7 separate regions of the Homo sapiens genome follow, and all the other regions are linked to region 1. Evidence: promoter capture Hi-C in 16 types of primary human blood cells and fetal thymus (Javierre and others, 2016). All regions are on one chromosome and are shown on one strand. The core of a region is centred on a gene start or on the middle of the fragment in contact, and the rest is flanking DNA. Distances in the headings are between cores, read along the strand shown.

Evidence for each region. The method cuts DNA at HindIII sites, captures the fragments that hold promoters and counts their contacts. A CHiCAGO score of 5 or more calls a contact.
Region 2: a fragment that was not itself captured here is called in contact with the fragment with the promoter of NFIL3 in region 1 in 6 of 17 cell types (naive CD8 T cells, activated CD4 T cells, non-activated CD4 T cells and 3 more); the score reaches 7.3 in naive CD8 T cells.
Region 3: a fragment that was not itself captured here is called in contact with the fragment with the promoter of NFIL3 in region 1 in 3 of 17 cell types (endothelial precursors, naive B cells and naive CD8 T cells); the score reaches 8.0 in endothelial precursors.
Region 4: a contact is called between a fragment that was not itself captured here and the fragment with the promoter of NFIL3 in region 1, in 6 of 17 cell types (endothelial precursors, activated CD4 T cells, M0 macrophages and 3 more). The highest score is 11.1, in endothelial precursors.
Region 5: a fragment that was not itself captured here is called in contact with the fragment with the promoter of NFIL3 in region 1 in 8 of 17 cell types (endothelial precursors, activated CD4 T cells, M2 macrophages and 5 more); the score reaches 14.8 in endothelial precursors.
Region 6: a contact is called between a fragment that was not itself captured here and the fragment with the promoter of NFIL3 in region 1, in 10 of 17 cell types (endothelial precursors, activated CD4 T cells, M0 macrophages and 7 more). The highest score is 10.2, in endothelial precursors.
Region 7: a fragment that was not itself captured here is called in contact with the fragment with the promoter of NFIL3 in region 1 in 5 of 17 cell types (megakaryocytes, total CD4 T cells, monocytes and 2 more); the score reaches 6.6 in megakaryocytes.

The regions. Positions count from the first base shown.
Region 1 is chr9:91,421,682-91,425,575 of GRCh38, forward strand. NFIL3 (nuclear factor, interleukin 3 regulated) reads right to left here and starts at 2,151. Exons shown (of 2, transcript NM_005384.3): 1 at 1,959-2,151. LOC105376146 (synapsin-1) reads left to right here and starts at 2,352. Exons shown (of 2, transcript NR_188612.1): 1 at 2,352-3,894. It overlaps LOC124902209 (a long non-coding RNA gene), which reads left to right. Exons shown (of 2, transcript XR_007061661.1): 1 at 1-23; 2 at 338-378. RefSeq lists a silencer at 2,089-2,488. The HindIII fragment of the contact is 22,022 bases long and covers 1-3,894 here.
Region 2 is chr9:90,927,175-90,931,068 of GRCh38, forward strand. It overlaps LOC105379829 (a long non-coding RNA gene), which reads right to left. Exons shown (of 4, transcript XR_001746828.2): 3 at 3,805-3,894; 4 at 164-575. Among named protein-coding and RNA genes, the nearest start is that of LINC02957, 68 kb to the right of the region's middle. The HindIII fragment of the contact is 2,049 bases long and covers 1,244-3,292 here.
Region 3 is chr9:90,949,985-90,953,878 of GRCh38, forward strand. The region is part of intron 1 of LOC105379829 (a long non-coding RNA gene); the gene reads right to left. Among named protein-coding and RNA genes, the nearest start is that of LINC02957, 45 kb to the right of the region's middle. The HindIII fragment of the contact is 2,119 bases long and covers 767-2,885 here.
Region 4 is chr9:90,969,586-90,973,479 of GRCh38, forward strand. No RefSeq gene overlaps it. Among named protein-coding and RNA genes, the nearest start is that of LINC02957, 26 kb to the right of the region's middle. The HindIII fragment of the contact is 1,933 bases long and covers 899-2,831 here.
Region 5 is chr9:90,988,596-90,992,489 of GRCh38, forward strand. No RefSeq gene overlaps it. Among named protein-coding and RNA genes, the nearest start is that of LINC02957, 6.5 kb to the right of the region's middle. The HindIII fragment of the contact is 611 bases long and covers 1,612-2,222 here.
Region 6 is chr9:91,007,202-91,011,095 of GRCh38, forward strand. No RefSeq gene overlaps it. Among named protein-coding and RNA genes, the nearest start is that of LINC02957, 12 kb to the left of the region's middle. The HindIII fragment of the contact is 4,761 bases long and covers 1-3,894 here.
Region 7 is chr9:91,047,412-91,051,305 of GRCh38, forward strand. No RefSeq gene overlaps it. Among named protein-coding and RNA genes, the nearest start is that of LINC02957, 52 kb to the left of the region's middle. The HindIII fragment of the contact is 492 bases long and covers 2,017-2,508 here.

The DNA.
Region 1 (3,894 bases), core at 901-3,400:
GGACTCCCACCCGAGCTCGCAAAGTAGGTCGGGGTCTGAAGCTGGGGGCCTAGAGCAACTAGCTTCTTGGAAAGCGACTGCAATTATTTGGGGTAATATACTCTGTTCCAGAGACGTCCACCCCCCACCTCCCACAAAAAAAAACCCTGCACTTAATTTAAATGTTACGTTATATATACATCCCATCATATACATATATTCACACATAATCACTATGTAACAGTCCAGGAAGAAATTTAATATTTGGGTAAATTACATATTCACACATCTTCACATAAGTAAAACCAGGGTATCCAGACAAAAAAACAATCTACTAACCTATATCTGTTTCCCATAGGTCATATCTGGTCTGGGGGTAAATAAATACTTCTGACCTCACTTACTGTTGTTATTTACAAAAGCCAAGAACAGAAGATGACACTTGGCCATTCCCTGCTGTTCTCAGAGAACAGCAGTTTCCTAAAGTGTCCTTTAAAAACATAAATGGGAGCCAGCATCCAGCAAATCACCGGGCGCTGCGAAATGCCTTCCTAAAAATACAATCTTATCAAAGGTCTCCGAAGGCGTGGAGTTAAAACTACAGCAAATGGCCTTGAACTTGTATTTGCACACAGCCCTGGAGAAAACACCAGAAATAGCACTGCGAGGCCACAATTGTTAAAATGTGATAGGGCTAAATTTAGAAGAACGTGCGTTTCATTTAGGGCAAAAGACACACATTCGGCAGCATGAGCAAACTCCATGCTTACCCGGTTGTCTACTTTCCTGTTTAAAATATCCTTAAGGAAAAAAAAAAAACTGTTATAGTGACATTCTTAAAGGCTGAGACTGTCCTACTTTCTTTGTAGCAAGATTATAAAATCACGTAATTAGCTCCCTCTCTCTATGCTCACTGCCAGCAAATTCGGCAGTTACATAATGCAACATTTCCAGGAAACTATTATGTGATTTGTCTTGTCGTGTCTGAAAAAGCAATGACAATAAGGTGAGAAAAAGGGCTGATCGAATGGAATGCATTAAAATTAGGAAGGTGGGGAGGTAAACGTCACAATGGTTCGTCCCAGATTTAAAAATAACAGCTGAGAACATTGAAAGGGCGAACCCCAGTAGTACCCAAGATCAGAATTCAATGCGAGCAATTCTTGCTTTTAGGTTTTGTAGTATCGTTTTAAAACCTGTTTATTTGGGACGTAATATAGACGTAAATAACGATCTAATATCCAACGCTGCGCCTCAATTACCAAATCATTGCACACATACGCGCATATTCCCACATCAGCCCGCAATTCTTGCCAACATTTCACCGTGGGCAGATTATGCAATGTATGAAAGGACAAATCCCACAACCTTCCCGAGGGCTTGTAAAACACGCTGACGACAAACAGGGTGGAAAACGTCTGTGCAGACACAGCCCCTGACACAAACAAACGCCGCGCAGGCATTCTCCGAATGCCGTCACCGTTCACGCTACCAACCCTTTTTCTCACCAAGCAAATTAAGACTATTCCCCATTCCTCAACCCCCCATTCCTCTCCCCCCTACGCCGCCAGCCCCAGAGAAGGAACGAGAAAGAAAGACACTAGAGAGGAAAGAGCATCTTCCCGCTCGGAGAGGGCTCAGCCTGCCTGGCGCTCTTCTTTACCAAAACATCAATTTTCCTGAAATCAGGAGACATTATGCAACAGCAGCGGGGGGAGAGCGCAAACCAGCCAGGACTACGTGCCGGCGCGAAGGCGCTGCAATCAAAGCAGCCACCTTAAGGTGGCGAGTCCCATCCTGACAAGGCAGCAAAAGTTTATGTAATGAATGCCCCGCGCGCACTCGCCGCCGCTGGCGAGCCCAGCTTACAGCCCGACCCCGCACACAGCGCGGCCCGCACCCCGCGCCCGCCCGCCCGCCCGCAGCGCGCCCTGGGAGCGGTCGCCGGGCCCCCGGCCGGCGGTGGGCGGAGCGCTTACCGTGTTCCTGCTCTCGGGCCGGCGAGGAGAAAGAAAGGGGCGGCCGGGAGTCGGGCCGCCGGCGCTCGGGGCTCGGGCCGGGCCGGGCCTCCGGGGCCGCGGCGGGAGGCGGGCGGCGGCGAGGGCGCGGCGCGGGAGGCGGGCGGGCGCGCCGGGTCCGCGGGCGCCGTGGCCGCGCGGAGAGATGTGTGTTAGTAGGTCAGTTCCGAGCGCCGCGCTACGTCGCCGCCCGCCAGCCCCGCGTGACTGGCGGCCGCGGCCCCAATCGCCGCGCCCGCACCCGCCCCCGGCCCGCCGCCAATGGCCGCGGCCGGCAGGGGCGGGCCGGGGCGGGCACTCCGCGGCCCCGCCCCGCCTCCCCGCCCTCAGCTCCCCCTCCGCGGCGGCGCCACTACCAGCTCGCGTCCCTCCCCGGCCAGGGCCACCGCCGTCCGAGCGCCCGCGAGGGCTGGCGCCCCATTCCCGGCGCAACGAGTGTTGCGCAACGGCCCACGCGGCCGACACGACCGGAGCGAGCCTGCGGAGGAGCCCGGGAGCCCCCCGTCCCACCGCCCCGTCCGCTCTTGGCTCCCTTCACCCTCCCGGTCGCCGCGGTGGCTCTGCGCTCCCCGCGACCCTCACTTGCTCGCAGAGGCGCTTTTTGTCTTCCTGAGAGCCGCAGCCTGCTGGGCTACCTGTTGCCGACTGAGCACTGCGGGTTGCGGCTACCCGGGCGTGGCCCGGACCTCGGCCTCCCCTTCCCCGCACACTCCCGAGAGGAGCCCTCTACCTTGGGGTGGGCAGGAGGGAAGGCGGGGGGTGGCGGCTGGCAAGCTGCCAACACTCGGGGCGCGCTGCGGCGGGGAAGGGGTTGGCGCGGCCGGGCAGCTGCGCAGGGCTGCGCGGCGGAGGCAGCGATTAAAATGTCCCGGCGCCTCTCCCGAGAGCCGCGACGGCCCGGAGCCGGGAGGGAAAGCTCCACGCACAAACACCGCCCCCTGCACAATTAGGGCGAAGATGACGGCTGCAAAGTTGTTGCGTAACACGACTGGGAAACGAGGCTCGCTGAGGTCCATCTACCCACCCCCGCCACGCGGGTGCGGCGTTCCTCGGAGGATGTGAAGGTCCGCGCTCGGGTGCCCCCGCTGGGACGCCCACTGTCGTTTGGTGCTGGGGCTTGAGACGACCGCGCGGGATCTCTTCCTGTGATTTTGAGCTGATAGCTGCTTAGTGTTATTTCTGCGTCTAACTGGATACGGTAGTCTTCTCTCCCAAATTCCCGGGCTACGGAAGAGACGTAAAAAAATGGAAAAAAGAGCACCTAGCCGCGACTTCTTAAGTCGTCGCGCTAGACTGTCAAGGCACGTGGCACACTCCCTGCGTTTACCGATACACGGATAGTGGTCAGTGCTGGCCTTGGCGAAGGGAGCCATGTTCCCGACAGTGACTCACAGGCTTGCCCAAATACGGAGTGTGGCAGGTGGGCAGGACCTCCACCAGCCAGCTCCCTCCTGGTCTCCTTGAACTACGTGGGGGCTGGGCCGAGTGCCTCCACGACTTTCCACTTCTTTTTGCTCCTTTCGTTTTTAAAAAGCAAAAACCAAAGTAAAGAGAAGAGCAGAGTGAACACCCAGGTACCATCCCTAGTGTCTGCCATGAGCAGCAGATCTATCTACTCGCCAAGATTGTCTTTTCTACCTTTCCCCTTCTTGCACAGTTAATATCATAATAACGCAAGTCATATTTAAAAAATTTTTATCACCTATCAGTTGAGTTTTTGGAAAGCCTTCCAGGGCAGCGTTGTGGTTTTGAACGCACTCTTGTTCGTGATTTATCTGGTAGTACAGCTCTGCTGACAAGGCTCTGAAAACTCAGACGTACAATATGGGCTTAGCGTGTTCCCCGACACCATCTTCCCGGTGCTGACTAATGCAAGAACCACATCCCCTCCACTACA
Region 2 (3,894 bases), core at 1,018-3,517, 490 kb before region 1:
ATTCAAAAGTCTGGATGTTTGTATTCTTTAGTTGGTGCTAATGTAACCCTGACATTACTGCTTCAGTTGAATGAATATTAACTACGTGGTATTAGCTGGTATTTGCAAGCTCCAGGGAATGCTTCCCTCAAGACAGCAGCATTTTGTAAATTAATTCAATAAATACAAAAGCAAATGCATCTGTTTAATGGGGGAGGCGATTAATGTTTCCAGATTCCCCTGGCCTCCAGCTGGAAATCTGGTTGAATTTTGAGACGTGATGCAGTCCATCCCTCAATGGGCAATGACTTGAAGTCTCAGGTTCTGGAGGTATTGACTCACAGGGTTCAGGCACTGCGGTCCTCGCTGCCAGGTCCCGTCTGTGTTCAGGGAGTTGCTGATGCTATCTCCCAGGAATACTCCATTCTCATGCAGGAGGCTGGGTCTCCTCTTGAGGGGTGTTAGGTGGTACCAACTCACCCCTGGGCCAACAGCAACATCGATGACAACTCAAGCTGTGGCTTCCTCTGAGTCAGGAACTTGTTGGGCAGCCTCACCCCTGAGGCTGGGCTTCATCTGGGGTAGCAGGTCCAGGCCTCGCAGGAACAAGACAAAGATGCTCAGTTTCACTACATCATTCAGGAAGTGCTAACCAGTGCGATAAAACAAGATCATAGCATAAGAAACATAGGTTTTGGAAAAGAAAAGGCTTACTGTTATTCATTGTGGGCAATATACTTAAAGCCAAAAGAAAACCCTGAAAAACAATTAGAAACACTAAGAGATAATAATAATAAAAGGCGGCACTTACAAAATTAATATAAAATAAATAGTTTTTTGATATACAAATAACAACTCTTTAGAAAATATAATGGAAGAAAAATGCCACTCAGAATAACACTAAAAAACCAAAGTCCTAGGAATAAATTTAAGAAATATGAACATGTGATGAGAAGGAAATATTAAGTCCCCAGTGTGAACATAAAAGAAGATTATTTCAATATATAAAAATCTCTTTTTCTTGAATAAAAGGCATAATGTTATAAAGTTGTCCATTCTTCCTATGTACTCTATATCCTAAATACTAATAGAATCTATTAATATGTCCCTGTAATGGAGCTGGAGAAAGTCTAAACAAGAAAAGAGATGAGAGGACTCTTACCAAGTATATATGAGTATTTGTTATAAAGCAGGAGTTGGCCAAGCCAGCTCATGAGCTGTTTCTGTATGTCCCATGAGCAAAGAATGTTTTTTGCAATTTTAAAGCTTTTTTTTTTTTTTGAGACGGAGTCTTGCTCTGTCGCCCAGGCTGGAGTGCAGTGGCGCCATCTCGGCTCACTGCAAGCTCTGCCTCCCAGGTTCACGCCATTCTCCTGCCTCAGCCTCCCAAGTTGCTGGGACTACAGGCGACCACCACTATGCCCGGCTAATTTTTTGTATTTTTAGTAGAGACGAGGTTTCACCATGTTAGCCAGGATGGTCTCAATCTCCTGACCTCGTGATCCGCCTGCCTCGGCCTCCCAAAGTGCTGGGATTACAGGCGTGAGCCACCGCGCCCGGCCCTAAAGCATTTTTTTTTAAAAACTTGTGTGTGACCCTATGAGGCCCATAAAGTCTGATAGATTCACCATCTGGTCTTTTCCAGCAAGAGTTTGCCAATGTCTGTTCTAGAGCATCATTAGTTATAACAGTCTGATAATGGAACAGAATTAGACCACACATCAAGGAAATAATACGCAATACAGAAATAAACAGAAACCAATGACAACTAAGTGTATAGACTAAGCTGCCATTTAAAAATCACCAGCCTGGCCAACATGGTGAAACCCTGTCTCTACTAAAAAAACAAAAATTAGCCAGGTGTGGTGGTGCACACCTGTAGTCCCAGCTACTCGGGAGACTGAGGCAGGAGAATTGCTTGAACCCAGGAGACGGAGATTGCAGTGAGCTGAGATCACTCCACTGCACTGCAGCCTGGCCAACAGAGCAAGACTCTGTCTCAAAAAAGAAAACAAAAAACAAATCACTTAGAAAAGATGGCTTATCAGTATCTCATCTTGGCTCACCTAGATAGCCATTTGGAAGAAAAAACAAAACTGGTTCCCTGTTCTACTACTAACTTTGGAGAAATGGAGCCTTTTCTTAGTTCCACACGAAAAACATTAAAAGAAAGCATTAACAACTCTGACTACATAAAAACCAGTACCTTTTGAGAAAGAAAAATGCCTTAAGCAAATGTAAAAGTCAAATAACCAACTGGTATTTGAACTGAAAGATATATAGAAGAAATAGGACAAATGATTTCTTTAATATAAATAAGTTCCTGTGAATAAATAAAAAGAAACAACTCCATAAAAATGATCTAAAAGTACGAACGAGCTGTTTATGAGGAAACAAAAATGGGCAAGAAACATGTTCAACTCAAACACAAATAAATGTAGATAAAATTATTGTATGTAGTTTTTCTTTTATCAAAATGACAAAAATTTTGGTAATGCCAGTATATGCCATGAAAGGCATTCTGAAGAAACAGTGTTCAGGCTGGGATCTGAAGGGCGTGTGGGAGTTATTTGGGTAGAGGGCGGAAGCATCCCAGATCGAGAGAACACTGTGTCCAAAGGCCTGTGCTGTGGTGGCATGGAGCCTTCTTGTTCAAAGAACTGAGGGGCCATGTGCCCATATTGGATGAGACAAGCTGGACATATGGCAAAAACCTGGCACAGAGGCAGGAATTTTGTCTTTGTGCTAAGAGCCATAAGAAGTACTTGAAAGGAGCCAACAACATACCCAGAGGCGTCTTTGACCCAGTCTCTCTTTCACTATATAAAAATCTCCATCTTTTTCTGGAATAAAAGGCATAATATTATAAAACTGTCCATTCTTCCTATGCACTCTATATCCTAAGCACTAATAGAATCTATTAATATGTCCCTGTAATGGAGCTGGAGAGAGTCTAAACAAGAAAAGAGATGAGAGGGCACTTACCAAGTAGATACAAGTATTTGTTATAAAGCAGGAGCTGGCTTTATAACAGGCAGTTAGAGTGTGAGGAATTGGGGCCAGGTGGGTTTACATGCATAACCTTCTCCAAGAGCAGGATTGATTTAGAAAGTGCCGACTTCCTATCTGCTGTGTAGATCAAAGGTATCAATCCACTTAAAGGGCTTAGTTTAACACACAGCACATGAGAAATGCTCAATATATCCTTGCTATTCTGATGGCTTTCCATCATCTGTCCTGCTAAGCAAAGAAGTCCAAGATGTACTAAAAGTTACAGAAGTGATAAAGAAGTGCTAAAAGTTACAGAATAGTAAGCTTTCTAAAGTCCCACTTGTGTAAAGATAAAGTAAAACAGAAGAATATGCTTGTATATAATTGTATATGCAAAAATATTTCCTTCTTGGGAAGCAGGGGGTGAATAGAGATTATGTTAAACTTTGACACTTAAAACCTAAAAATAACACGTTTATTGTAGCAACCTTGGAGAACAAAGAAGATCACTTGTTATTTAAAGTAGATAGGCTGAATGTCAAACGTGTTTAGGACTTAAAGGAAATCCCTTTAATGAAAGGAAATATGGTTCCAAGTAATTAAATCCATGGGCTGCCTTTGTGCTGTAGTTAGAAAATAATCTAATATGGAGGAGGGAAAGGAGGAAGAAAGGCTGAATTTCAGGGGCAGGACAGCAAATCCGATTCCAGCTAATACTCACCTTCCAGGAGTTTTTTTTAAAGGCCAATGAAGAAATTCCTATCATTAATAATAAAGAACATCCCAACACTAGCATTTCCAATTTATTGTGACCTGTTGCGCATAGAGACTTACTGACTCATGAGAAATGCACCTCTTTTGAAGAGTCTTCTAGATGGATGCATCATTTCTGCACTCAAGATTGTGTTCCATTGTGCAAAGAGC
Region 3 (3,894 bases), core at 576-3,075, 470 kb before region 1:
TGGCTGGCCAGGGTTCCAGACTGTTTGCTACTGCTGCTTCCAAACAGCTACAAGCTGCTGAGTTATTCCTCTTGTTGGTTGTTCGTGGAGCCACCATAAGATACCCACCACAGTCTCTGATCCCTGCCTGCCTGGTTGAGCTGTTATGCCACATCGTTTCCCTGACTTGGTCTCCATGCAGGGAAAATCATGGCGTCTTATTTAGCCTGTGCCTCAGGACTGATGCTGGCAGAACTGTTTAAACAACAAATAAATGTGCTTAAAAAGTCCTTTCATTTTGTCAAAAGAAGGGAACTAACAATTTATGAGAGCTTACTATATGCCAGATGCTTTATTTATTCCCTGACTTAGTTCTCACAAAAAACACTTGAAAAACATATCATTATACCTATTTTCACAGTCCTGCAAACTGAAGTGCAGAAAGGCCAAGTCAGTGGTATGCAAAGGCTCCACAGTCCTGATAGCGCTATAAGAACACACTTGAAAATGTGTTTCTGACAAATGTTCTGATCTGCCTAAAATACTTGAGTTTTTTTGAAAGGAAGAAACCATTGTTGATCTAATATCTAAGGAAGAAAGTGTTCTGTTTTGTTTTTAAATACTGGGAGCTGGTTTTAGGTAAGAAAGTCCGTGTGATATTTGGTAAGGATTACTAATCCTTAGAAAGAGACACAATTGGTGTCAATAAATAAGGCCAATAAGAATAACAAAAATAAATGTTGATGTCTATTAGGAAAAAATAGTCTCGTGACAATGGTTAGGATGAAGCTTCCTGCTGTGTTTACTTAAGGGATTTTCTTCAATTATCTGTGAGGCAAGAAGGCAGAAAACATTGAGTGAAAACACGAAGCCACTGTTAGTCAAGAATTCTACTGTCTCTCAACAATCAGAAACAAAATTCCCTGGGGAAGCCCTTCCCCATATTAATTAGAAAAGTCAGGGAGATGAAATTGAGACTAGAATAATAAGATAAGCATGAAGGCATAGGTGGCCCCAGTGTCCTTACAAACACTCCAGAAAATTGTACCCTATGGAACTGTGCAGAGGTAGGTTTGCAAATCAAACACATGAAATGATGAAATGCTACTAGATATAAGTCAGATTATATGTATTCTTATATTTATGCACTTAATAAGCATTTATTGAGCACCTATTATGTGCCAGGTTCTATGTACTTTGAATACAATGATGCTATCCTCTAAGAATGTAAAATAAACTTATAAGTGCTGCAATCGTAATTACTTAAAATATTGACATATATTGAATGTATATTTAATTATATTTCAGGTTATAATTATAACCATTCTTTTTTTTTTTTTTTTTTTTTTTTAGACAGAGTCTCAACTCTGTCGCCCAGGCTGGAGTGCAGTGGCGCAATCTTGGCTAATTGCAAGCTCTGCCTCCCGGGTTCACACCATTCTCCTCCCTCAGCCTCCCAAGTAGCTGGAACTACAGGTGCCTGCCGCCACGCCCAGCTAATTTTTTGTATTTTTAGTAGAGACGGGGTTTCTCCGTGTTAGCCAGGATGGTCTCGATCTCCTGACCTCGTGATCCGCCCACCTCGGCCTCCCAAAGTGCTGGGATTACAGGCGTGAGGCACCACGCCTGGCCAATTATAACCATTCTTATACTTTTGTTTTAATTATAAATGGGAGTTTCATAGAAAAATTGCCATTTGGCCTTATTCACCTCAATTCATCACTTCTTGATTAAATTTATCCATCAGGTTTATGTAGCCTTAGCAAGTACAATAATTCTCCTAATGGGAACTGCTTCAAGTGAAGAAGGAGGAAGCGCTATCTAGGAGGAAGCACTCAGTCTCTGTGATGTATTTGCAAATCCATTCCTACTAACAAATAGTGGCTGTAAGAAAGACATCAATGAATACATCTAATCTGTCTTCAGGTTGTTTGTGAAGGACTAGGATAGATGTGGGGGTCCAATAAGGTAGAGGGGATCAACTGTACACTAAAACAAGTTATTCCAAATGTAGTCTAAACTTCACAATATCTGGTTTTAACATGATAGCACAAAATCTTTGTTTTCTTCCTTTCCTTAATTTCTTGGCTATTTTGCCCAACGATATTTCTTTCTGGCAAATCACCCAATGGCAACAAGGAATATAGGGAACAGAAATGAAAACTGCATCTCTGATGAGCCTAAAGATGGTTAAACCCGCAAACTCTGACATAAGAGGGAGAATGGCTAAGAGCAAGGTCAAAAGGGATGTCAGAAGACATAGGGAGGGAAGGCATCAGAAACCTGGGAGAAGGCCTCTCAGGGGAAGTGGTGTGTCTGAGCTTCCAGCCCACCCATCCCTATGCAACTGGGCAGGAAACAGAATGTGAGATGTGCTTTACTATATAACACAGTTTGCTCAGGTACTTAAAAAACTGGTGTGATTTTGGCATCAGAAAAACAAGCCATATTTGAAAACTGCCAAAGCAAACACACAAGCAAGCAAACAATCCCTATGATCTGGACATTCTTTTTTTTTTTTTTTTTTTTGAGACAGAGTCTTGCTCTGTCGCCCAGGCTGGAGTGCAGTGGTGCAATCTCGGCTCACTGCAAGCTCACCACCTCCCGGGTTCACGCCATTCTCCTGCCTCAGCCTCCCAAGTAGCTGGGACTACAGGTGCCTGCCACCACACCCGGCCAATATTTTGTATTTTCAGCAGAGAAGGGGTTTCACCATGTTAGCCAGGATGGTCTCGATCTCCCGACCTCGTGATCCGCCTGCCTCGGCCTCCAAAAGTGCTGGGATTACAGGCGTGAGCCACCGTGCCTGGCCGATCTGGACATTCTTAACCCATATCTTAACCAACTCCTAACTCAAAAAGAAAACTAAAACCAAATAGCAGAATGTAGACTATGACCATGATAAAAGCTTGACAAACCAGAACCTATGGGTTATCCCTAAAGAAGTGCTCAGAAGAAATTTCAGGGCCTGGAATAATGTGCTATATTCATGCATTTGATCAATGAACAAATACATTGCATACCTATTCTATGTCAGGCATTATTCTAGCAGTACATAAAACAGGTTGAAACGCCTGTCTCTGTGGAGTGTGCATCCTAGTGAAGGAAATAAATAAGTACTGTATTTACGTAGTAGGTCATGCAGTGTTAGTGTTAGAGGAGAAAATAAATTAGGAAAGGAACTAAAATGTGCATAGTGGGTTTGAATAAGGCGGTTAGGAAGGCCTAATAGAGAAGGATACATCTGAGTAAAGATGTAAATGGGTGAGAAGTGTGTCTCTCTGGGGGAGAAAAGGCTCCCTGCCGAGGAAAGAAAACTTGCAAAGGCCCAGAGGCTTGCAAAGGTCTGAGGCTTCGGAACTACTTGCTTCTAAAAGAACACTCCATGTTCCTCTCCCTTCCATGTACCTTGAGAGTGCCTCTAACTGCTGGCATCTAAACCAGAGCCCTCTAGCAGAGATTTGGGGAAATGTAGCTCCTAGGCAACCATGTCCTGGAGTACACGGGAAAACATAGAAAATACACACCCAGCATGGGTTGTAGCTGGAGATGGCTGTGAAGTCAAAAATTTGCTGTTGCTGTTGTTGTTTTTATTTTAAATGATAAACATTAAAGTGCACTGTTATGCTGATGTTAATGTCTCACTGTTGTGGGAAATTTTTATTATGCAGGAGAAGGGAAAATTTTCTAGAGCAAAATGCTAGAAAGCATAGGATCTAGCAAACAAGAGGAAAGGTTTTTCTAGATAAGAATGGACAGGGAGCATGTTGATTTCTGTGGTGGAAGTTTGCTGTGATTACTCCTTTCATTTCTTTCCCCCAGTGAAATAGGAAGCAAGGTGATTGGCTGAGAGAGAAGACAGAGAGGAAGTTTTGGAGGTGTAAAGACAGGAGTCATGAAATGATCATGTGGGAC
Region 4 (3,894 bases), core at 615-3,114, 450 kb before region 1:
AGCGTTTTTATTCCTGGCCATAGGAGCAGCCTTGCTTGTAATTAACCATCATCCCTAATATCTGTCTAATGCCCATAACACCCCCGAGAGGAGTTTTGTCATTCTTATTTTGTAAATGAGTAAGATACAGAACTTAATCAGAACTCAAGGATTCTTATTTGGTGGGCTGTTTAAGCTGGAGTAAATGTTTGTTTTTTACTGACCATCATGATGTCAACATTGCCTTTAAAAAACAGGGAATAGAAGAAGAAAAGGAAAAAAGGAGGGAGGGAGAAAGAGAGAAGGAAAAAAGGAAAGAGAAAATGGTGATTAGATGGTGTGGTGTGGAATCAACATAAGGTTACCAAGTGTGTATGATTTCACAGATGTTAAATACCATGACTACTGCTATTAACTACTCCCGCCACATCACCACATCTGCAGAATCTAAGACAAGAATGTGAGAAAAAACAATGACAGTCCTAAAGGACAATTGGCAACTTGGATCACCATCCCCCCAGGGTCCCCATTTTCCTAATTTCCACTTAGAGTAGTTACAACTTGAGCATTCCCACACATAGAAATCAAAGGGCCAGGCCTCAGCACCAGGCTGCACCCAGTACAGCCAGACTCCCTTCTTGCTTCATTACAGTGGGCTTGCATTTGCCTCCAAGGATGTCCAGGGCTCTGGAAACCAAACCTTCCAGCCTTTGGACTTTTTCAGCTACAAAATATGGATCAAGTATGAACTAGTAACAACCCATTAAAATATATGTGTATGGTTTGGAAAAGATCATGTATTTTAAAGTGAAAGCAAAGACTTAGCACTGAGTAAAAGTTAAATATTTTTGTTCAATTCAGTCTGAAAATAGAAAAACAGAAAGTGGTGTCTAAGAGCTTATGGGCATGAAGGAAATCAAGCTTGGGCAAAACAATCTTCAGTGAAATTTTATAGCTGACTCACAAATCCTTACAAGGCAGAGGGTGTTAGTATTAGGGATACGAGGCAGCGCTATTAATTGTGCTATTATGCACCTGGTGAAATTTTAGGAAGGTAAATACGTGAAAGAGGACCACTGAGCCTGAGCTTTGCATTAAGGGATAACACTGCTCTTCATCCCGGGAGGGCAGATGTCTTGATCCTGGCTTTATGATGGCATGACACACACATCCCTCAACACCTGACTCACTTCGTTGGCCCTGCTGATGTCCACAGGCAGCCACATGTGATGGCCTCAGTGCTGAGTGGAGAAACGCCTGCGGCTTTGGGAAGGACTTGCTGCAGCCTGCTCCTACCCCAGCCAGCCTCCTTCCAGCCCCATTGTTCTCGACACATAAGAGGCCTGGCAAGTCTCAACCCGGGTGTAAAGCGGCATCCCTTACCCTAGAAATACAGAAGTCATTTTTTTCTAGTAGCTAAGAAAGGCCTGGCGCTGCATTACAAGAGTTCATTCACATAAACAGTGAACGCTAGAAATCGAATTACACTTGGATGCTTCCTTGGGGGATTCTGTTATTTGTTTGATTGTCCCCATATATTTTGATGGGAAACGTGGTCTATGTTCACTCAGACCTACACAAAATAACCATAGCTACCGTGTATTAAGTACCTGCTATGGGACAGGTGGCTTATATGCATTTTTTATTCATGGTTACTTTAGTCAGTAAAGAATGAAGGCCAGGTGTGGTGGCTCATGCATATAATCCCAGCACGCTGGCAGGCCAAGGCAGGAAGATCACCTGAGGTTGGGAGTTTGAGACCAGCCTGACCAACGTGGAAAGGTGAGGAAACTGAGGCACAGCCAGACAACCTGCCACAGGGATGGCAGAGCAGGTTGGGGACAGCCCAGGCTACCTCCATCTTATGACAATTCTTCAAGAAGATGGGCATGGAAAATGCAAAATTATCTGCAGGAATATTGCAATCTTGCTCAGAAGAGGAGGAGGAAGATAAGCGGCAGAGTCCCTTTAAATGCTCTGGTGCCCATGGCCAATCTAAACCACTCTGGGCCTGCTTCAAAGGCCTCCAGAGAGGCTGACGGCCAGCAGGCCTCACTGTGGGTCAGCTCCAGCCCTGTGCCTTCCAGCACTTTCTTATCAGGAGGGTGAAGAGCTGGCTGAGAAGGGTGGCCAAAGAAACAATCACACAATGGCTGCCCCACAGTGTGGACATATGTGCCCTCTAACTGAGCTGATCAAATCAACTCTGAGAATGCAGCTAGGTTTTTAGGAGTGGTTGAATCTAGTTAATAGGTGATTAAAAAAGTAATCAATATTTATGGTTTAGTCCCATCTCCAGATTTACGTAGGCAGTCTCGGGATTCAAAGTGCTCAGAAGGCGCTGACATCGGATGTTGTAAAGGGGAATAGAGTGGGAATAGGATTCCGCATCCTCTGAGGTGTGATGGAAGAAATGATACAGCAAGCAGCTGTCCTCGCCTTTGGCTGTGCTGCAGTCACTGTGAGGCTGTGAGATTCCACACACCTGGCTGCACCCAGACCCATTCAGCCCGCAGATCCAAGACAGATGGCACCCCGGCACCCGTGTTCTTAATCCCCAAGGGTGGCACTGCCTCACAAGGCTGGGGATCCTGGTGTCCTGTCTTACAGGTGCAAGCATAGATGAGAGTCCTGGCCACGCCTGCCATTCAGGCAGAAAGGCTCTGCTACCAAGAATCAGAAATCAAGTTCTTTCGTAGTTAAAAAAGAAAAAAGAAAAGCAGAACTAGCATCACCAACAAGGCTAGTTTCCACCCCCCACCTATGGCAACTATGAAACTGTCTCACCAGAAAAAAATGAAAAACTGACAGCCAGAAACCTTTTTACCCCTTTTGTTTCATGAGCGGTAGAAAGCTTATGACCCACAGGAAAAAAGAAACTGGAACCAGTAGCAGAAAGGGAGCTGGGGTGGTCTCCAAGCTCTGGAGGGGCAGAGCAGGACACAAAGCTGCATTACTCATGAGCCCACCCAGGAACTGTGGCTCCCTCTGGTCGGAGGGCTTGTCTCTGGGCAACTGGGTCCCCCTTTAACTGAACATATGTAGGCCACTTGTCTGAGCACAGGGGTAGCTAGACCTCAAAAAGTCTCATAAGCAAATGAAAATTATAGGGGTGAGAAGTGAGAAAGGAAGAATCACATTTCACACAACTGCTATAGAAATGCCAAGCCAGGAGAACGGCGTGAACCCGGGAGGTGGAGCTTGCCATGAGCCAAGATCGTGCTACTGCACTCCAGCATGGGCGACAGAGCAAGACTCCGTCTCAAAAAAAAAAAAAGAAAGAAAGAAAGAAAGAAATGCCAAGCAAGTTGTCTGCCTAAGCACGTGGCACATTTTTCAATAAATGGACAGACACAACCTTACATCCCCAGCCCCCGCCCTGTTCCAGGGAAGTGCTTGACTCTGTCCCCACTTCGTTAAACAGATCATTCTACCTCTTCAGATGGGCATGGAAAAATCCCTTTAGGAAGTCAGCTATCATATGAAAGTAGCAGCATGCATTCTTCTTTCATTTCTTTTCTTTTTTTTTTTTTTAGATAGTCTTACTCTGTCGCCAACGCTGGAGTGCAGTGACACAATCTTGGCTCACTGCAACCTCTGCCTCCAGGGCTCAAGTGACCCTCCCACCTCACCCTCTCGAGTAGCTAGGACTACGGGCACATGCCACCATGCTCAGCTACTTTTCAGTTTTTTTGTTTGTTTGTTTTTTGTTTTTTTAGAGATGGAGTCTCGCTCTGTCACCCAGGCTAGTGTGCAGTGAGGCCATCTCAGCTCACTGCAACCTCCGCCTCCCGGGTTCTAGCAATTCTCCAGCCTCAGCCTCCCGAGTAGCTGGGATTATAGGTGCATGCCACCACACCTGGCTAATTTTTTGTATTTTAGTAGAGACGGGGTTTCACCGTATTGCCCAGGCTG
Region 5 (3,894 bases), core at 667-3,166, 430 kb before region 1:
AGAAACACTCTATGTTTGACCCATTGCACTGGACACAGATGGCTGCCTTGAGAGTCAGGGCTCCTATGGTACATATGTCTTTATTTTATAAGCAGGATGACCATATTTTCTGAACCACAGACCCAGGAATGTGGTTTGACAATTATAAATGCAATCAGGAGGCAAGAAGACCGAATATTTTAAATCAGCACTACCCCAGAAAATACGGAAATTATACTGGTTGTGCTTACTGTCTGTCGTGTTTTATAAATAAACCTTAGACAATCTACGTACCCTTCATGTTTCTACTCCTTTGTTAGTAATAAACTACTACATCCTTCACAGATTGTGGAGATTAAATGAGATAATTCACACATAATCAGGAGACTATATGGCACATTGTAGAACTGCTCCATAAATATTAGCTAATTACATTTTTATAGTTGCTATCTCTTTATGTCCCTTTCATATACCTTAAGTACAGTAAGTGTTCAATAAATAGTTGTTTATGGAAGTTAAGGTTGTTTGTTGGGATTATGGAGTCTATTAGTTGGCTATTGTTGTGTAACAAATTACCATAAACTTAATGGCTTCAAACAACTTCCATTCATTATCTCACAGTTCTGTAGGTCAGAAGTCCAAGTGGGCTCAACTGGGGTCTCTACTTAGGGTCTTTCAGGGCTGAAATTTTGGCTGGGCTGGGCTCTAACCAAGGTTCTGAGGAAGAGTCTGCTTTTAAGCTTGTTCAGGTTGATGGGAGAATTCCATTTTTTGCTATTGCTTGACTGACTTCTCCATTTCTTTGTTAGCTGTCAGTCAAGGGCCATTCTCAGCTCCTAAGGCCATTTGCATTCTTTGCTCCATGGCCTCCTCTATCTTCAAAGCCAGTAATTGTTCATCAAATACTTCTCATACTTGGAATCTCTCTGACTTCCTCTTCTTCTACCAATCAGATAAAACTCCACTTTAAAAAAATAGATTTAGGAGGTACAAGTGCAGTATTGTTACATGTATGTGGATATATTTCATCATGGTGAAATCTGGACTTTTGCGTACACGTCACTCAAATAGTGAACATTGTACCAAATAGGTAGTTTTTTAACCTTCACCCCATTCCCATCTCCTCATCTTTTGGAGTCTCTAACATCTGCTATTCCACTTTATATGTCCATGCATACCCAGTGTGTAGTTCCCACTTACAAGTGAGAACATGCAGTATTTAACTTTCCGTTTCTGAGTTATTTCACTTATGATAATGATTCCAGGTCCATCTATGTAAAACTCTATATTTAAAGGGCTCATATGGTTAGGTTAGGCCCACCCAGATTATATTTTTATTTTAACATCAACTCATTAGTGACCGTAACCACATAGGCAGGATTTCTTTGCTATATCACTTAACCTAATCATGGATGCTGCAATGGGGGCAGAGATCATTAGGGCCACCTACAGTTCTGTCCACCAGAGTACAAACTCTGGCCCCATAATTCACTCTCACTTGCAGAAAACATTTACCTGCTCCCCAAGGTTTCCAACAGTCTCATCCCATTATCACACTAGATAAAGTCCAGAATCTCACCAGCTCAAAAGCCCAAAACTCATTATCTACTTATCTGAATCAGGTGTAGATAAAGCTTCTGAGTGTCACCCATTAAGTACAGCTCCAGGGGCACAATTTGTCTCCACCTACACACCTGTGAAATAAAAGACACAAGGTATCTTTCTCCAATACTCCCAACACACAATGGTGGAAAGAATAACAGTTATAGAACTCAAGTCCAAAATTGGGGAAATGGAAGGTAAAAAGGAGTCATTTGTTTCAATCTGTTTTGAAACCCAGCTGGGCAAAATCCACCAGGTCTCAAAGCCAGGTAACCTGTGTCTCTCAGCTGCTCTGGGCTTTCATCTTCAACTTCTGGGCTCCTGCTTTAGCTCTTAGAGTCATGCTCCGTTTTTCACAAAAGGTGACAGGTGTTTGCAGCTGGGGAATTTTATCAGTCTGCTTTTGCCATTTTGTAATATCTATATTCCATTTAGTCCTAGTTGGCATCTTTATTTTCTGCTAATCTGTTTTGCTAAAATATTTCCACTAATACAATGTTTTTTTCTAAAGTGTGTGGGCCTTGTGTGTATTTTCACTGGGTTTCTCTGCATTAGACAAAAGCTATACACACAAATCTTTCTCTAATAATCTCTTCTCTATCTTTGGCTTCTGCTTGGAGTGCTGAACACCAGTGTTTTTAAGCTTCCCAGAGGCTCTCTGGTTTGATTAGAAGATCTACATGGAACACTCTTAATCCCTTGGAAGAGTCATTATGTGGCTGAATACACAAGACCTCTGAGCTTTCCAGGGTTTCAGCAAAGAGCTGCACAAACACATATTCAGCCTTTTCTCTATGTCATAATTTTGGCATCCATCTCTGACTTCTAGGGGTATTTTTTGCCACCTGGAGAGGCTAAACTTTTGAAATTATCAAGTCGTTGTCCCTTCAATAAGTCTTCCTTCAATATGTCTCTCTTCTATTACATTTTAACATAAAAAGCAAGAAAAAAACAAGCAGCACCTTCAACACTTTGCCTGGAAATTTCCTTAGCTATATATTCCAGTTTATTACTTATGAGTTCTGCTTTTTATGTAACAACTGGACACAATTTCACTAAACTTTCTGCAATTATATAACAAGGATCTCTTTTCTTCAGGTTTCCAATAACGTGTTTCTCACTTCCTTCTTGGCCCATGTCAGTAGTATCCTTAAAGTCCAGATTTCTACTAGCAATCTGTTTAAAGTGATTCAGCTTTTTCTATAATGCTCCTCACTTTTTTCTGAGACTTCACTGGCAGAGTCTTTAACACACATATCTCAGTCAACCAATCAAACTATTAGAGTCCTTTCTAACCCATCACTTTAAAACACTGAGTCCATACTCTCAGTGAGCCTGTATCAGTAATTTCAGACTGATACAACTTTATATTCCTTCCACTTTGATGCCACACCCTTAAGATCCATTCCCACACATATTCCCCAGGTTTCTGTCACTATAAGCTAGAAACATCACATAGTTCTTTTGGTGTCCATCACACCTCTCTGTGGGTCACAACTTGTACTTCACCTTAGGATCTACTGGGACTTGAGCCTCACGATAGGTCTCTAGGTCCAGAGGAGGATCAGCAGTGCCTATAGGGTCACTAGGTCAGAAAAGCTCATCATAAGTCTTCAGTAAAGGGGGGATAACCTCAGGCAGGGGGAAGAAGCTGCTTCTACTGTTGTACTGGGGGTCCCCAAGACCACTCCCCACCTCAGTGATTATCTAGGAGGACTCAGCATACAGTTGTACTCACTGTTATAATGTATTACCTCAAAAGGATAAAAAAGCAAAATCAGCAAAGAAAAAAGGTCAATAGGACAAAGTCTGGAGGAAACTAGGCACAGCTTCCTAGAGTCCTCTCCCTGCAGAGTCACAGAGCCTGGACTAATTTCTCCAGCATCTAGTTGTGACAACTCCTGTAAAATATCATCTACCAGAGAGACAGACCAGGGTTTTTATTGAGGGCTGTTCACACAACCACTGTCTGCTTAGCACATACCAAAATTCCAGAGTCCCAGAAGGAAAATCAATCTCAGCCTAGATCAAATTGTTTGCACAATCAGGTTAAACAGCGTGAGCAACCTTTGCCATTTAGGGAATAGGGAAACTCTCCCAAAATCCAAGTTCCCAGAAATCAACCAAGGCTCAACCTTATAAGCAGACCTTTCTAAGGAGAGCATTCTCAGGCCTTGCTCTGTTAAAACTCTTTCCTACACAGCTGTCAATGAAGACATGGTAGAATTTAGGGGTTTGAGGCCCCCAGTTTGCTTGCATCTCTTCCTATGTCCATACTCCAGTTTTCAAAATCCCACTTCTTCCCAGTCAGTG
Region 6 (3,894 bases), core at 918-3,417, 410 kb before region 1:
AGATTTCCCCAAACTAATGAAAGATATTTCATTGAACACAATTTATGCCCCTTATCAGATGCATTCAGCCTCTCCTGACTCCAGGGACCCGCACCCCTTGTTTGCAGAGGTCCCCAGCTGCTTCTGCCCCAGCTGCCACCACATCACCTCCAGGCCCATTGAGGTCTTGGCCATATTCCATGAGGTGAGCCCAGCTTCTCCTTGTCCCATGGAGCTGTTTGATCACTGCTCAGTTAATCTGGAAAATAATAATGAAACGCTAATTAGAAAATTCCCATATGTTTGGAAGGTAAGGGATAAATTTCTAAAGCACTCAAGGATCAATGAAGACATTACAATGGAAATTAGGAATTATTTTGAACTTGATAACAAAAATCTAAACACTTGTGAGATGCAGCTAACACGGTGCTTAGAGGGAAATTTTAAAACTTAAACAGATACATGAAGGAACATAAATAACTAAATACCAAGTGGTCTAAGTATCCATCTAAAGAAATTAGAATGAGATTACCAAATTAATTTTTTTTTAAAAAAAGGCAAAGTTGGAGAAAGAGAATAAAATGAGAGGACAGAAATTTATGTAATAGAAAATAGACATCTAATACAAAGGCTCAATAAAGCGAAAGTTCTTTCTTTGAAAGAAGCAACTTGTCAAACTCCTGCTAAGACTTATCAATGTAAAAAAGAGGACACAAATCCCAAGAATCAGAAATGGAGGTCAGGAGGGGGGCACATCACTATAGCTTCTGGAGATAGGAATGTGATAGTAAGATGATAATTACAATAAACCAATAAACTTAAATTTTTAAGAGAAAAGTAAACAAATTCCTAGGAAACTCCAACTCACCAAAGCTGACTCCAGAAGAAATAATAAACAAGGATAATCCTTTAATATTGAAGAAATTAACACCATAAATTAAAACCTTCTCTTAGAGAAAACTCCGGACCCAAATGGCTGCCCAGTGAAAAACTAATGCAAATCTTACACAAACTCCTCCAGAGAACAGAAATCAATGAAACCCCCAGGAACCTGTTTTCTGAAGCCTGCATGACCTTGACACCAAAACCAAGCAACATCATTGTAAGAAAGGAAAAGAACAGGCAAATTCCTCTCATATATATAGATGCAAAAATACTTTTTACAGGGAAGGGAAGGAAGGTGAAGGGATGAAGAAAAGTTGATTCATGTGTACAAGAATATCGTTAGAAGGAATAACTTCTAGTATTCTATAGAACAGCAGAGAAATTATAGTTAACAATAATTTATTGCATATTTCAAAATGGCTAGAAGAGAAGAATTGTAATGTTCCCAACACAAAGAAAATATAGTCTTGAGATGGTGGATATTGCAGTTACCGTGATTTGATCATTACATAATGGATACAGGTATCAAAATATCACATGTAGCCCCAAAATATGTATAGCCATGATATATCAACAAAAATACAAACAACATTTTTTTTAAATAAACGAGTGATGATTGAGAGAGACAGGAGACTTTCGAGAGCAAAGTGGCAGGGTCCTCTTCACTGTGGAGGTTTGTCAGGAGGTCAACTTTGGCTGGCTGGTGTGGAGCATTCATAGAGTGTCCTGTCCTCCCTCACCACCTCCTGCCCAGCAGCCTGTATCACATAGGCCTTGTTGCCATCTGTGGTCTGACTCCACCCGCTTTTATTTGTGGTTTGGGAGACACCTTATCAACTCATTTTGTTATGTTATTCATAGATAATGAGTTTTTATTATTTCAATTGCTCTGGTTGGATTTGTTGAGGGTTTCCAGAACATTCACAATTATGCCACCACTGCTGCCTTCTTATGCCTTCTTACTCAGGGTTTAACCCACGCCTTTAATATCAATGCTAGTGCACAGTATGTATGCTGCATTGTTTTTACAGCAATTCCACCATGGATAGATATTCAGATTGTGTTCTGTGTTTTTCTGTTACAATAAATGCACGAGAATATCTTTGGGCATATTTCTATTTTTTTAATTTTTGTAAAACATATTGCTAAAAGTGGGATTTCTCCATCATAGAGTTAACAGATACTGTCAGATTACTTCCTCTAACATTTGGGGCAATGCACACTCCCATCTGTAAAATCAGGGAGTACAGTTTCTCTAAATCCTTTCCAATATTGGATCCTATAAACTTTCTCTAATTTGTTAAAATTTGATAGTAAATTTGGCATTTTGTTGTTTTAATTTTAATTGTCCTCATACTAATGAGGTCGAGAGTTTTAATTTTCTCTTACTTTTTGCATTTTCTCTTGCCTGTTCATATCCTTTGATACTTTTCAACTGGACCTTTATTTTTCCTTTTCTGAAGAAGTTCTTTGTATATGAGAGATATTAAACCTTTCTCCACATATAGTTCAAATGTTTTACCCTGTCACTTGCTATTTGACTCTCTCTGTTTTTTTGCCATATAGAAATGATTAACTTCCATCGTGAAACCAGCCTCTGTCTGCCTGTATGTCCTTTGAGTTTTGTTTGTTGCTTGACAAGGCCTTTTTCACCCCAAGATTAGGCAACATTCTTCTATATTTTCTTCTAATACTTGTATGGGTTTGTTTTACACTTAGTTATTTGATATGGTTTGGATCTGTGTCCCCACCCAAATCTCATTTTCAATTGTAATACCCAATGTTTGGCAGTGGGGCCTGGTGGGAGGTAATTGGATCACAGGGATGGTTTCTCACGGTTAAGCATCATCCCCTTGGTGCTGTCTCATGATAGAGTTCTCATGAGATCTGGTTGTTTAAAAGTGTGTGGCACCTCCCTGCTCTCTCTCTTGCTCCTGCTCCTGTCGTGTAAGACATGCCTACTCTCCCTTTGCCTTCCGCCATGATTGTAAGTTTCCTGAGGCCTCCCCGACCATGCTTCTTGTGCAGCCTGCAGAACTGTGAGCCAATTAAATCTCTTTTCTTTATAAATTACCCAGTCTCGGGGTATTTCTTTACAGCCGTGCAAAAATGAACTAATACATTATTTAAACTTGGACTTTTTGTGCACGGAACAAGGTAGGAGTCTATCTTTGTTTTCTTTCAAGTGACTGATTGTTGTTTACTTAGAATTAATTCATTTCCACCTCCTCCTTACTAACGAAATCTCAAACTTGTTCAGAACATAAACTCTCTGCCATATTCTTCAGAGAAAGATAATCCTAATCCAGAGATTACATTAGGTTGTCTAAGCTCATAGCTCTTTCCAGAGACTGGCTCAAAAATTGGCACGTGAACCAATTCTGGTGGAAAAGATGTGAGGAGTGCTGTGCTGGGGGATTTGGGGAAGGTTCTCCCTTGCTCTTCTGGGTCCACGTGACATGCTATCATCTCTCTTCCTCAGAGAAGGGGCCCTGAGTGGGTGTGAGGCCTGGGGGTGCTATGGCATCTGCCCGCCTATGCAGAAGGGTCTGGCACAGAAGAGGCACCACTGAGAGACTCTCTGGGAGTGGAGGCAGAGCCATCAGAAACCCTGTTCTGAAGGCCTGCATCTCTACGGTTCCATCCTCCTTAAAACTGAGGAACAGCCTTCCTTTATGTCTAAATGTGTCTCGTTAAATTCATTTTCATTTACTTGATAGCTTTTATTGTTATTATACATTGGCAGTTTTTCATTTAATTTCTATCTATTGATGTTATCTTTAAAGGTATTAATTTTATGTTTTATTTTGTGTACAAAATATCTTTTGAATGCAACAGTTTTTAAAATCTGGCCTATTGTATTTTCCAAGCCTGTAATCCTATTGCCTACAAATAAAGTTAATTTTGATCTTTCTATCCTAACCTTGGTATGACTTACTTGTTTTATATTTTATTACATTAGCTAGACTCTCAAAAATAATGTTGTTTAATAATGGCGATTGGGGCATTGCAGTCATGTTCCACATTTCA
Region 7 (3,894 bases), core at 1,013-3,512, 370 kb before region 1:
ATGTTATAAAATATCTCACCCACTCACAGTATCAGCAATAATACATTTGGAGTTTAAATCAGCCAGTGTCCTCCAACTGAGGATGAAATTACAATCACACACATTTATAAAGTGCTCCTCTATGATAGGCTCCGTTCTGAGCACTTTACATATTTTTCTTTATTTCACTTTTACAGTAACTCTGGGAGGGTTATTATCCTCTGTGATAGATGAGAACACTGAGGCACAAGTTGCTTAAGTAACGTCTCCAACGTCACTCAGCAGGTGAGTGGCAGAGATTCAAGTCCACGTGGCACAGCCCAGAGTTTTGCTTCAAACCACTGCACAATTGACTCCACCATTAGCCTGGGGCTTTCACTTTCTACACGATGAAGATTATATATGGATAAGAAAGACTTCAGAAGAAAGAAACCAGATTGGTTTCCTTTACTTTAAAGTTCAAATCTAATTCATCAAAAGAAGGAAATGATATGCTAGTTTTCCTTTTTTTTTTTTTTTTTGCAACCTACTGCCATACTTAAATTTCAGTTTTGAGTCTCTTTAAAAACTTCACAAAAATCCCTCCATGCTTGATCGGTAATTTCTAGTTGTCTAATTGAGTGGAATGAGTAGACATGTTGCCAAAGAACATCAGCAACTTGTCACAAATCAAACCCACATATCCAAAAATCTAGTACGTTTCTACACTTGAGTCATCAGAGAGACAGGATGATGGCAGGCTTCTCTCGGTGCCTGAGGTCTGCCTTACAGCAGGAGTTGTGTTTTGTTGTACTTTTTTTTCCACTTCAAGAGCATAAGCAAGTGTGAGTTGTCCCATTGGCATTTCCAGTCTGTCACTGTGTGAAAGGTTATCCAATGGAGTTTCTGATGGAAATGCCAAAAACTTTTTCTGGGTTCTAAAGTTTCTTACTAGCAGGGGACACGTGTTCTCTGTGACATCCCTTCCTGGCTGTATTTATAGGCAATTCATTTAACATCTCTAAGCCTCAGAATCCCCAACTCTATACTGCGGACAGTAATAACTACAGTGGTCTTCCCTTATCCACAGGGGACACGTTCCAAGAACTTCGGTAGGTGCCTGAAACCGCGGATAGTACCAACCCCTACATAAAGCGCTCATCTGCACTGTGGCCATAACTTTTGCAGTTGGAGATGCAACAGCAAGAGCAGCATGACTTTGTTTTTCCTTCTTCACAATTTCACAGGACGAAGATTTGTTCTTAAAAAGATCTTAGCAACTTCAGCATACAATACTTTACTTGGCTTACTATTGGAACTTTCATCTTTTCACTTAAAGGAAGCACTTTAAGGCTTTCTTTGGCATATATGAATTGCCATCATCACCACTCTTGCCGTTTGGGGCCATGATTAAATAAAATAAGGGTTTCTTGTGCACAAGCCCTGTAATACCATGACAACTGATCCAATTACCCAGCCAGCTGCTAAGCAACTAATGGGCAGGAGGCAGGGAGGTGCTGGACAAAGGGAGGATGCACATCCCTGCCCTCTGACTGTCAATCCCACGAGGGCAGGGGTCTTCTCTCTGCTGTCCTTCCAGCATCTAGCCCTTTGTGACCACTGAGTAAATATTTGACAAATAAAGGAATGAGTGAGTAAATGATTTCTAAGACTCCTTTCAATTCTGAGTCAATGAGGCACCAGGCTACCCTTGTTTTACCCTAGAGAATGTGTCTTTTAAAAAGACAAAGATGTTCTTTTGGCACAACTAGGCAAGAACAAGAAATAAAAGAAAAACAAGAAGTAAAACTATATTCACAGATGATATGACTTTGTATATAAAGGATTTTAAGTACTTCACAAAGTAATCTATTAGAGGCAATAAACAAAAGCTGAAGGAGCTCATCACTACAAGACCTGCCCCACAAGAAATGCTGAAGGCAATTCTTCAAGTTGAAATGCAAGGGTGCTAAACAATAACATGAAGGCATATGCAAATGTAAATTTGGTAAAGACAAATATGGAAACAAATACATAATACCGTAATACTGTAATAAAAGCTTGTAAATCTCTTTTAACTCTAGTATAGAAGTTAAAAGACAAAAGTATTAAGAATAGCTATAATTAGGCCAGACTCCGTGGCTCATGCCTGTAATCCCAGCACTTTGGGAGGCCAAGGCAGGCGAATCACCTGAGGTCGGGAGTTTGAGACCAGCCTGACCAACATGGAGAAACCTCATCTCTACTAAAAATACAAAATTAGCTGGGCGTGGTGGCGCATGCCTGTAATCTCAGCTACTTGGGAGGCTGAGGCAGGAGAATCGCTTGAACCCAGGAGGTGGAGGTTGCAGTGAGCCAAGATCGCGCCATTGCACCCCAGCCTGGGCAACAAGAGCAAAACTCCGTCTCAAAAAAAAAAAAAAAAAAAGAATAGCTATAATTACCAAAATGTGTTAATGGATATGCAATATATAAGATATAAATTGTGCTATCATTTACATAATGTGGAATGTGGGGAGACTAAGAGTATAGTTTTTGTATATGATTGAAAGCTTGAAATAAGATGATTTACATAAGTAAGCTTTATGATAACCACAAAGAAATTACCTATGGTAGATACACAAAATAAAAAGAGAAAGGAAGCAAAACATATCATTACAAAGAAATCATCAAATCACAAAAGAAGACAGTGAAAAAACAAAAAAGGGACAAAAGAACTACAAAACAAATAAAGCAAATAAAATGACAATAGTCCTTGATTATCAATAATTTCTTTAAATAAAAATGGATTAAACTTCTTAATCAAAAGATATAAAATAGCTGAATGGATTTTAAATAACAATGGATTAGAGATTTAACTGTGCTATCTAGGAGAGACTAACTTTAGATTTAAGGACATACATAGGCTGAAAGTAAAGGGATGGAAAAAAAATATTCCACGCACATGGAAACCAAAAGAGAGTGGGGGTGGCTGTATTTATAACAAACAAAATATGCTTTAAGGTAAAACTGTCCAAAGAGACAAAGAAGGTCAGTGTATAATAATTAAAAGGTCTATTCATTCGGAAGATGTAACAAGTGTAAATATACACTGTATGCACACAACATCAGAGCACCTAAATAGATAACGTTGACAGGTCTGAAGAGAGAAATTGACAGCAATATAATAATAGTAGGAGACTTCAATACCCCACTTTCTGTAATAAATAGAACATCCACACAGAAAATCAGTAAGAAAACAGCGGGCTTTAACAATACTACATGCCAAATGAACCTAATAAACATGTGCAGAATATTTCATCCAATAGCAGCAGAATACACATTCTTCTCAAGCTCAGATGGAACATTCTCCAGGATAGATCACATGTTAGGTCACAAAAATAAGCCTTAACAAATTTAAGAAGATTGAAATCATGTCAAGTATCTTTTTAAACCACAATGGGATAAAACTAGAAATCAATAACAGAAGGAAAACCGAAAAATTCACAAATATGTAGAAACTAAACAACACAATATTGAATAACCATTGAGTAAAAGAAGGAATCGAAAGGAAAATAAGAAAATATCTCAAGACAAATGAAAATGAAAACACAACAAACCAAAACTTACGGGATGCATCAAAAGCAGTTATAAGGGAAAGTTTACAGCAATAAATGCCTACATTAAAAAAGAAAGATCTCAAATCAACAACCTAACTTTAGAGCTCTAGGAACTAGAACAAACTGAGCCTAAGTGAGCAAAGCGAAGGAAATAATAATTATTACAGCAGAAGTAAACAAAACAGAGAACAGAAACACATTTTTAATATCAAGGAAACTAAGTGTTTGGTTTTGGGGAAGATAAATAAAATTGACAACCCCTTAGTTAGACTAAGAAAGAAAGAGAGAAGACTCAATTAAATAAAATCAGAAATAAAAAAGGAGACATTACAACCGA